2 separate regions of the Homo sapiens genome follow, and region 2 is linked to region 1. The links are contacts of gene promoters, found by promoter capture Hi-C in human tissues and cell types (Jung and others, 2019). All regions are on one chromosome and are shown on one strand. Each heading gives the region's core, a stretch centred on a gene start or on the middle of the fragment in contact. The rest is flanking DNA. Distances are from core to core; before and after follow the strand shown. Region 1 holds the start of ARAP3 (ArfGAP with RhoGAP domain, ankyrin repeat and PH domain 3). Region 2 has its middle 97 kb from the start of SPRY4-IT1.

The links. The method cuts DNA at HindIII sites, captures the fragments that hold promoters and counts their contacts. A contact is called where the count stands out against the background at its distance.
Region 2: a fragment that was not itself captured here is called in contact with the fragment with the promoter of ARAP3 in region 1 in 2 of the 25 tissues and cell types used here (pancreas and spleen).

What each region holds. Positions count from the first base shown.
Region 1 is chr5:141,680,578-141,684,218 of GRCh38, forward strand. It overlaps ARAP3 (ArfGAP with RhoGAP domain, ankyrin repeat and PH domain 3), which reads right to left and starts at 1,653. Exons shown (of 33, transcript NM_022481.6): 1 at 1,596-1,653. RefSeq lists a silencer at 1,653-1,702. The HindIII fragment of the contact is 12,570 bases long and covers 1-3,641 here.
Region 2 is chr5:142,219,082-142,222,722 of GRCh38, forward strand. No RefSeq gene overlaps it. Among named protein-coding and RNA genes, the nearest start is that of SPRY4-IT1, 97 kb to the right of the region's middle. The HindIII fragment of the contact is 6,422 bases long and covers 1-3,641 here.

The DNA of each region.
Region 1 (3,641 bases), core at 403-2,902:
ACAGTGAGCACCAGCCTCCAATCTTCCTCCAAAGAAAGATGCTGAAAGGCCTGCGATCTGGAAGCAGAGCCATCCCAGAACAACAGCAATGGCTCTCTACTTAGGGAAGGGACTTCATTTGAAGTTAAGGAAACTGAGGCCCAGAGAGGGGAAGGGGCTTGCCCCAGGTTCACAGTAAGTCAGTGCTAGAGTTGGCCCCTCAGTTCCTGCCCACCCTGGGTCTGGGTCAAAGCTCTGCTCCTGCCTGACTGCACATCCAACTGAGTAAGCATGGGACAAGATGCTAGAATGCTGTGGGTCAGAGTGGGATAGGGAGATGCAGAGGAGGGGCCAATGATGTGGCCAATCAGCTCTGGAGTAAGGTAGGGAGAGGGGCAGCCTAGATAGGAGGAAGGAGGTGCAGACGCCCCCTCCCTCTTGTTTCCAGAGCCGATGTATGCAGGCCTGCCGTCCTAATCCTGGTTGTTCCCAGTCCCTCCTCCCCTTCCACCTATTGTCTCTGCTCAGACTTCCTTCCTGTCCCTCCAGCCCTGGCCGCCTCCACATCCTGCCTGCTTTGGTCAGGCTGCCGGGAGAGCCCTAACCAGTCCTAATGTGTGGGGTCCCGGCCCTGGGTGGAGGCTAATTGAAGAATAAGGATGGGGATGCCAGAGAGATGAGGCCTGACCTCTGGTCAGGGGTACTCCAGAGGCTTCTGGACTCTCTGCCCACCGGCAGCATGTTCACATGCTGTTCACCTGTGTGTGCACATGCCCTGTAGCGATTTGGCAGTGTGAAATGCCATCCCCCCACCTCTGCTTTCTCCAAGCCTTCCTTTTCTGAGCTTGCCTTTTCCCTGCTCATTCCCTTGGGCTCAGGTCTCTGTGCTCTGTCCCCCTTCCACCAGCCTGACCCCGACCCTGACCCTGGTCTATTTCATAGACCTGTCTCTAATTCTGTGGCCCCTGAGTTTTATCTCTGCCTTGTCACTGTCCCTGCCCCATTCCATCTCAACCTCTCAATTCTTCTTTGTCCCTCTCCTTGTCCCACCCTGTTTTGCTCTCTGTTATTAAGCTTGTCCTTGACTCAGTCTACAATTCTAACCAGATCTTGAGTTGTATCTGTGTCTCTGTCTGCCTCTGAGCCTGGGTTTCTGTCTTCCGCCTCGGCCTAGGCTCTCTCCCTGTTACTCTTGTGCTCTGTCGGTGACCAGGACGCCCTCTCCGTCCCAGCATCACTGCTGGCCTCCCTCTGCCTCTCTCCAGCTGGGCCTCATTCCCAAGCCAGGGCCCGCGTGCTGAGCCTCGGGCCCTGACTCAGGGCCCGGTTTCCCGGTGACTCAGGCCGGGCTCGACAGCACGGGGCTGGGAGCTGAGGTGCTCGCGGGACAGGAGTGGCGGGGGCGGGGCGGGCAGTGGCGGGCAGCGCAGGCTGCGACGAGGGAGGGGGCGAGGAGGGATGGGGCAGAGGCCGGGCAGCAGGAGGGAGGGGCGGGTCGTGGCAGGGATGGGGAGGGCCGCCGGCGCCGAGGGGGCCTGGGAGCCCACGAAGGCCCTCGAGAAGGTGATGGGGAGGAGTCTGGGAAGCAGGGACCCGGGGGGCGCGGGGGTCCTCACCTCACTACGCGGCCGCCGTCCGCTCGCGGGTGCCCGCCGCTCGTCCGAGGTTCTGGGTCCCGCCGCGCCGGCCCCGCCTCCCCTCTGCCCTCCCTCGACGGGCCCAGCCCCGCCCCGCCCGGCCGGTTCCCTCCGCGGGGCCCCGGCCACTCCTTGTGCAAGCGCAGGCCTCCAAAGGGTTTGGGCTTCTTGCCCAACCGCCGCGCTTATCTCCGAGTCTGCCCCCAGTCTGCCCTCTCGCAGGCCGAGAAAGGACCAGAACACGTTGGGACGAAGACAACCTCAGGGAGAGGGACAAAGAGGCAGAGACCGGGACGGAGACTGGGACGGAGGTAGAAACTGAGAAAGGGAGAGTGCCAGGGACGGCTTTGCATCCTCTCCGCTGCTCCCATGCCCTCCAGTCCTGCCAAAAGGGAGGAGGAAAGGTCGAGCCCTAATCCCCCAGGGCACCTCTCCCACGCCCGGAAGGGTGGCTGGACCCTGGCAACCAGTTTAGTGTGGGGACGGAAGCTGGACATCCAGAATTGAGACTTGGCCTGGGCAACAAGCGCAGAGGCCCAGCAGAGGGGTACCCGTCTGTTTCTCCCCACTTCCATCCCCAAGGGCCCGGCCTAGGTTCCTTCGAGGGATGAAGGTCCGCAAGGCACATCCCTACTTCCAAACCAAGGTTTGGGGCTGCCTTTTTGGGACAGGCGGACGCCCTGCAAGCTCAGTGACCAAGCAAGCAGCTGTTTCATTCATGGGAGAAGCCGCCCCTTCTCCCCAACTCCCACCCTAAAATTTCAGGGGGGATGCCGGGGAGGCCTGAAGAGGAATGGCCCTTCTCTCCTTCGCTAATCTTGCCGGAACCCCGGTCCTGGAGCCTGTCTCCCAGGGGCGGAGGCACTTCCCTCTCTGAGCAGGACCAGTGTTTGGGTGTGGGGGGGGGGTGTTTGTGTGTGTGTGTGTGTGTGTGTGTGTGTGTGTGTGTGTGTGTGTGTGTGTGTATGTGTTGGGGGTGGCGGGGGCGCTGGCCGGCTGTGTTTTCCTGTTTGTATGAGAGGAAGTTGGCTGTGAGTCAGCAGACACAGGAACTGTCAGTAGCTAGGGGAAGACCCCTGCCTCAGGGGAAGAAGAGGGGAGTGGGAGGAAGTGGTTCCCACCTCTTCCAGCTGCCTCAGCTAGGGGAGGGACTGTCATCTTCAACCTACTGGAGCCCCACTTTCCCGGCCTTCCCTTTGAGAAAGAGAATTATAGTAATAAAATAATAATTGCAATAGCCATAATAAGGGCTACCAATTATTGAGAGCTGACCGTGCTCCAGGATCTATGTAAACATTGCTTTGCAAACTTTAATCCTCACAAATATCCCTACAAATAGGAAATTTTATCACCTCTATTTTACATATAAGGAGACAGGGAGCATTAAATAACTTGCTCAAGACTCTGCAGCTAGAAAATAGCCAACCCTCCAAGTCTATATCTATAACTACCATGCTCACCTACCACCCTGGACAGGACCCCTGCACCATGTCCTTTTTTTCAGATGGGCAACTGTGGTGGCAGTGAGAATGCTCCTCACAGATCTTACACTGTGAGGAGTGAAATTAACCAATGGCCCCAGCTGCTTCTCTCTGAAATCTAAGGCCAGCTTCCCACTGGGCTGCTCCCAGCCAGTGACAGAGCTCAGCAGAGATCTAAGGCAGACCCATTCCTGGGAGATAGGGGACTCCTTTGACAGCTGACTTTGGATCAAGATTTCCCAATGGCTTTGCTGAACTTTCCTTTGACTGGTGTTTTAGGATGCTCCTCTCAACCTTTATTCCTTCCCTCTCTCCTTCACAGCTCTCCTAGCTCCAGGCTCCCTTCCTCTCTCACAGGCATCTCCCCTAGTCAAATCCTTGCATTCTGCCTTGGCAGCTTCTTCTTTAAGGACTCAGACTAACCCAGCAAAATAAGGGAGCAGGAAAAGACAGTAAAGGGCACAGGGAGTTTTGAGGAATGGATGCCGGGGAGTTTGGGTCAGGGGCTAGATGCAAGAGTTCTGAACCTTTTTGTGCCATGTTC
Region 2 (3,641 bases), core at 643-3,142, 540 kb after region 1:
TGCACTCCAGTCTGGGCTACAGAGCAAGACTCTGTCTTAGTGTATGCTTATTGTAACTTGGAACTAAAAAGCCCTTTCCATGGCCGTAGTGGCCCATGCCCTTTCCCATCTGCGTCTTGTACTCCACACCCCTCACCCACCGCCCTTCACCTTTCGCCAGGATTTTGTCTGAATGGATCTAGTCCCAGCTGCATACGTTCAGCATAGACAATGATTAAAACCTAGACTTCAGGGGTCTGTAGCTGGAGGCAAGTTGCTCTGTGAGCCTGTTTCCATACCTGTTCAATGAGCATAGGAAACGCCACCTCTGACAGATGTTTAAAGAATGTTAATGGGAAAGTCTCTTTCCCATTTAGGCTAAAACAAAAGTACCTCCTTAGTATACTTTATACTTTAAACCTTCCAGGGCACTTTCCCATTCGTTCTCTTATTTAAAGCTACTGAAATCTGGGCTGGGTGTGGTGGATCACTTGAGCCCAGGAGTTCAAGACCCGCCTGGGCAACATGGCGAAGCCCCATCTCTACTAAAAACACAAAAATTAGCCAGGCTTGGTGGCTCATGCCTGTAATCCCAGCTACTTGGGAGGCTGAGGCAGGAGAATTACTTAAACCTGGGAGGCAGAGGCTGCAGTGAGCCAAGATCGCACCCTGCACTCCAGCCTCAGTGACAGAGCGAGACTCCATCTCAAAATAAATAAATAAAACTATTGGTCGGGCGTGGTGGCTCATGCCTGTAATCCCAGCATTTTGGGAGGCTGAGGCAGGCGGATCACCTGAGGTCGGGAGTTCGAGACCAGCCTGACAAACATGGAGAAACCCCCGTCTCTACTAAAAATACAAAATTAGCTGGGCATGGTGGTACATGCCTGTAATCCTAGCTACTCGGGAAGCTGAGGCAGGGGAATCGCTTGAACCTGGGAGGCAGAGGTTGTGGTGAGCCAAGATCGTGCCATTGCACTCCAGCCTGGGCAACAAGAGCGAAACTCCATCTCAAAAAAAAAAAAAAAAAAAAACTATTGAAATCTGCATATGGTTGGGTGTGGTGGCTCACGCCTGTAATCCCAGCACTTTGGGAGGCTGAGGCTGGTGGATCACAAGGCCAGGAGTTCAAAACCAGCCTGACCAACATGGTGAAACCCCGTTTCTACTAAAAATACAAAAATTAGCTGGGCGTGGTGGTGCACACCTGTAATCCCAGCTACTCAGGAGGCTGAGGCAGGAGAATCACTTGAACCCAGGAGGTGGAGGTTGCACTGAGCTGAGATCACGCCATTGCACTGCAGCCTGGGCAACAGAGCGAGACTCCGTCTCAAAAAAAAAAAAAAAAGAAATCTGCATATGAAGCAGGGTGGGCGATGTGGTCTCCTTATCAAGCAGGAAGTGGCCTCAGAGAGGTTAAAGCCCTGTTCAAGGAGACACAGGGAATGGATAGTGAAACTGGGACTGCAATGACAGCTGCACTTGAACTTCTCCTGAAGGTGATGCTGCGGAGGGACCAGATGAAGACTCTGAGCCCCAAAGCCAGCCAGCATCTAAGGGACAGACCTCTGCTTTCAGGTCAGCCCCGACACGGCTGCCTGCTCAGGGAGGCCGACTTCCCTACAGCCCAATTCTGGGGCACTCACACATCTCTCAAATTCTTCAGTGTTCACCCTCTCCCTGGTCTTCTCCCATTGCACTTCTCCCGCCACTGACCTTGGCTTCTCCAGCCTTCCCTCCTCCAGTTTACAGCCCCAATTCACTGGGCAGTGTGGGGAGCTTGGGCCAAGGGTAGGATTTGGCTGTGGGGTGGGTGGGGTCACAGGGCAGCGAAAGCTTCACCAAACATCTTGCCCACTACCTCCACAGTCCAAGTCCGGGGATGCATTTCCTAAGGGGAGCCCAGTTCGGTATCTAAATCCTTCAAGGTGGGGAGCCAGAGGGAGAGGGGTGTTAAGATCTTTAACTTCCAGAATTCACATTCTTGCAATGAGCGGGACCCTGTCCGGCTAAGAAGCATCAGTACCACAGGAGGGAGTTTAAACAGGAAGAGGAGATTTTGCTTTGTGGTTGTGATTTTAATGCTCTCCCGGCTGGTTGGATGAGTGCCTACTTTCTGGGGCTGGGGTGGTAGGGTGGAGGTGAGAAGGTGGTGGGGGAAGAGAATAGGGAGGAAAGGAGAGTCCTCAAAAAAGTAGTGTAGCTGCATGGGAGAAAGCGATGTCTGAATCCTGTGAATCCCCTGGAGCTGCTTCCCAGCTGTTTGACCTTGTGAAATGGCCTAACTTCTCCCAACTTCCATTTCCTCATCTGTATAAAAGCAGGGACAATACTTCCTTTATTAAGCAAATATCTTCTGTCTGCCTACCGTATGCTTGACCCTGTGCAAATGAACAAGACAAACAGGAGACAGGATCTCTGCCGCCCTGGAGCTTATATTCCAGGAGGGAGACAAACAAGAAATACATCAACTATAAACAAACAAGATAATTTTGGATCATGCTAAGTGTTAGTCAAAAGCCGAAAGGGAGTGGGGAACATGGGACGGACAGGGAACTCCTCTCTGAGGACGTAGCCTCTGAACAGAGTCCTGGAAGCTGAGAAGTCAGTTCTGGAAATGGAGGAAGAGTGCTCCAGGCGCAGGGAACAGCAAGTGCAAAGGCCTTGAGATGGGAATGGGCTTGACGCGCTTGCAAAACAGGCAGTGGCCTGAAAATATAAAATGTGGTGAGCAAGCGGAGAAGTGGTTTGAGCAGAGGTGGGAGAAGTAGGCCAGAAACAGATCACACAGGGCTTTGGAGGCTATGCTGAGGGGTTTGGAAGGCTTTCGAGGGTAAGTTAAGCAGGAGAATGACATGATTAGGTATGTATTTGAAAAGATCACCACCATGAATTTTCTGAGCCTCATTTTCCCCCTCTGTTAAAAATGAGCATAATAATACATATCTCACAGGATTATAGAGGATTAAAAGACTTGAAAGTTAAAGCAACAAGCAAATTGATGAACATATATGCCCGAGGTGCACAACAAATGCCAGGACCATGATGTGAAGACTTTTTAGGAGCTCTGAAGAGATCTGCTTAGGAGTGAGGATGGTTCCTAAAGAGTTAATCAAACCTGTCTTGGGAAAAGCAATCCCATGCTGCTAATATAATGGTAAAGGATGCAATTCAGGCTGTTTATTTTTTAGAGATTCAGTGCTCCTATTAAGCAATCACTCTGTTTATGTCACTGCTAATTGAAGTAAATTGCTTTCTGCAATCAAATCGGGAAGTTCCCCCTTCCGATCACGAAAGGGACTTGGACTCTGGTTCCTGATTTCCAGTATTTAGTCTGACTTGAGATTTGCCCTGTAATTAATTGCATACATTCCACTGATTTCCTTAAACAAGCAGTTGGTTTGCCGTTGGGTCGGCAAGGGATGCGTTGATTTTGAAATTGCCCCTGGGATAGGAAGTGTTCCGCCTCCCTTCTCTCGCAACCCCAGCCACAGCAGCCTTCTGGCTGATGGAGCTGGTGGGGAGTGGGCCTCACAGCAGATGTGAGAGGTGGAAGTGAGCAGCAGGTGTGACCGCTGTGGTCCAGAATCCTCTTGGTGCCCCCGCCCAGTGGAGAATTCTAGTGCATTAGAACCAAAGCCCGTGAATCAGGCTGGAGGAAT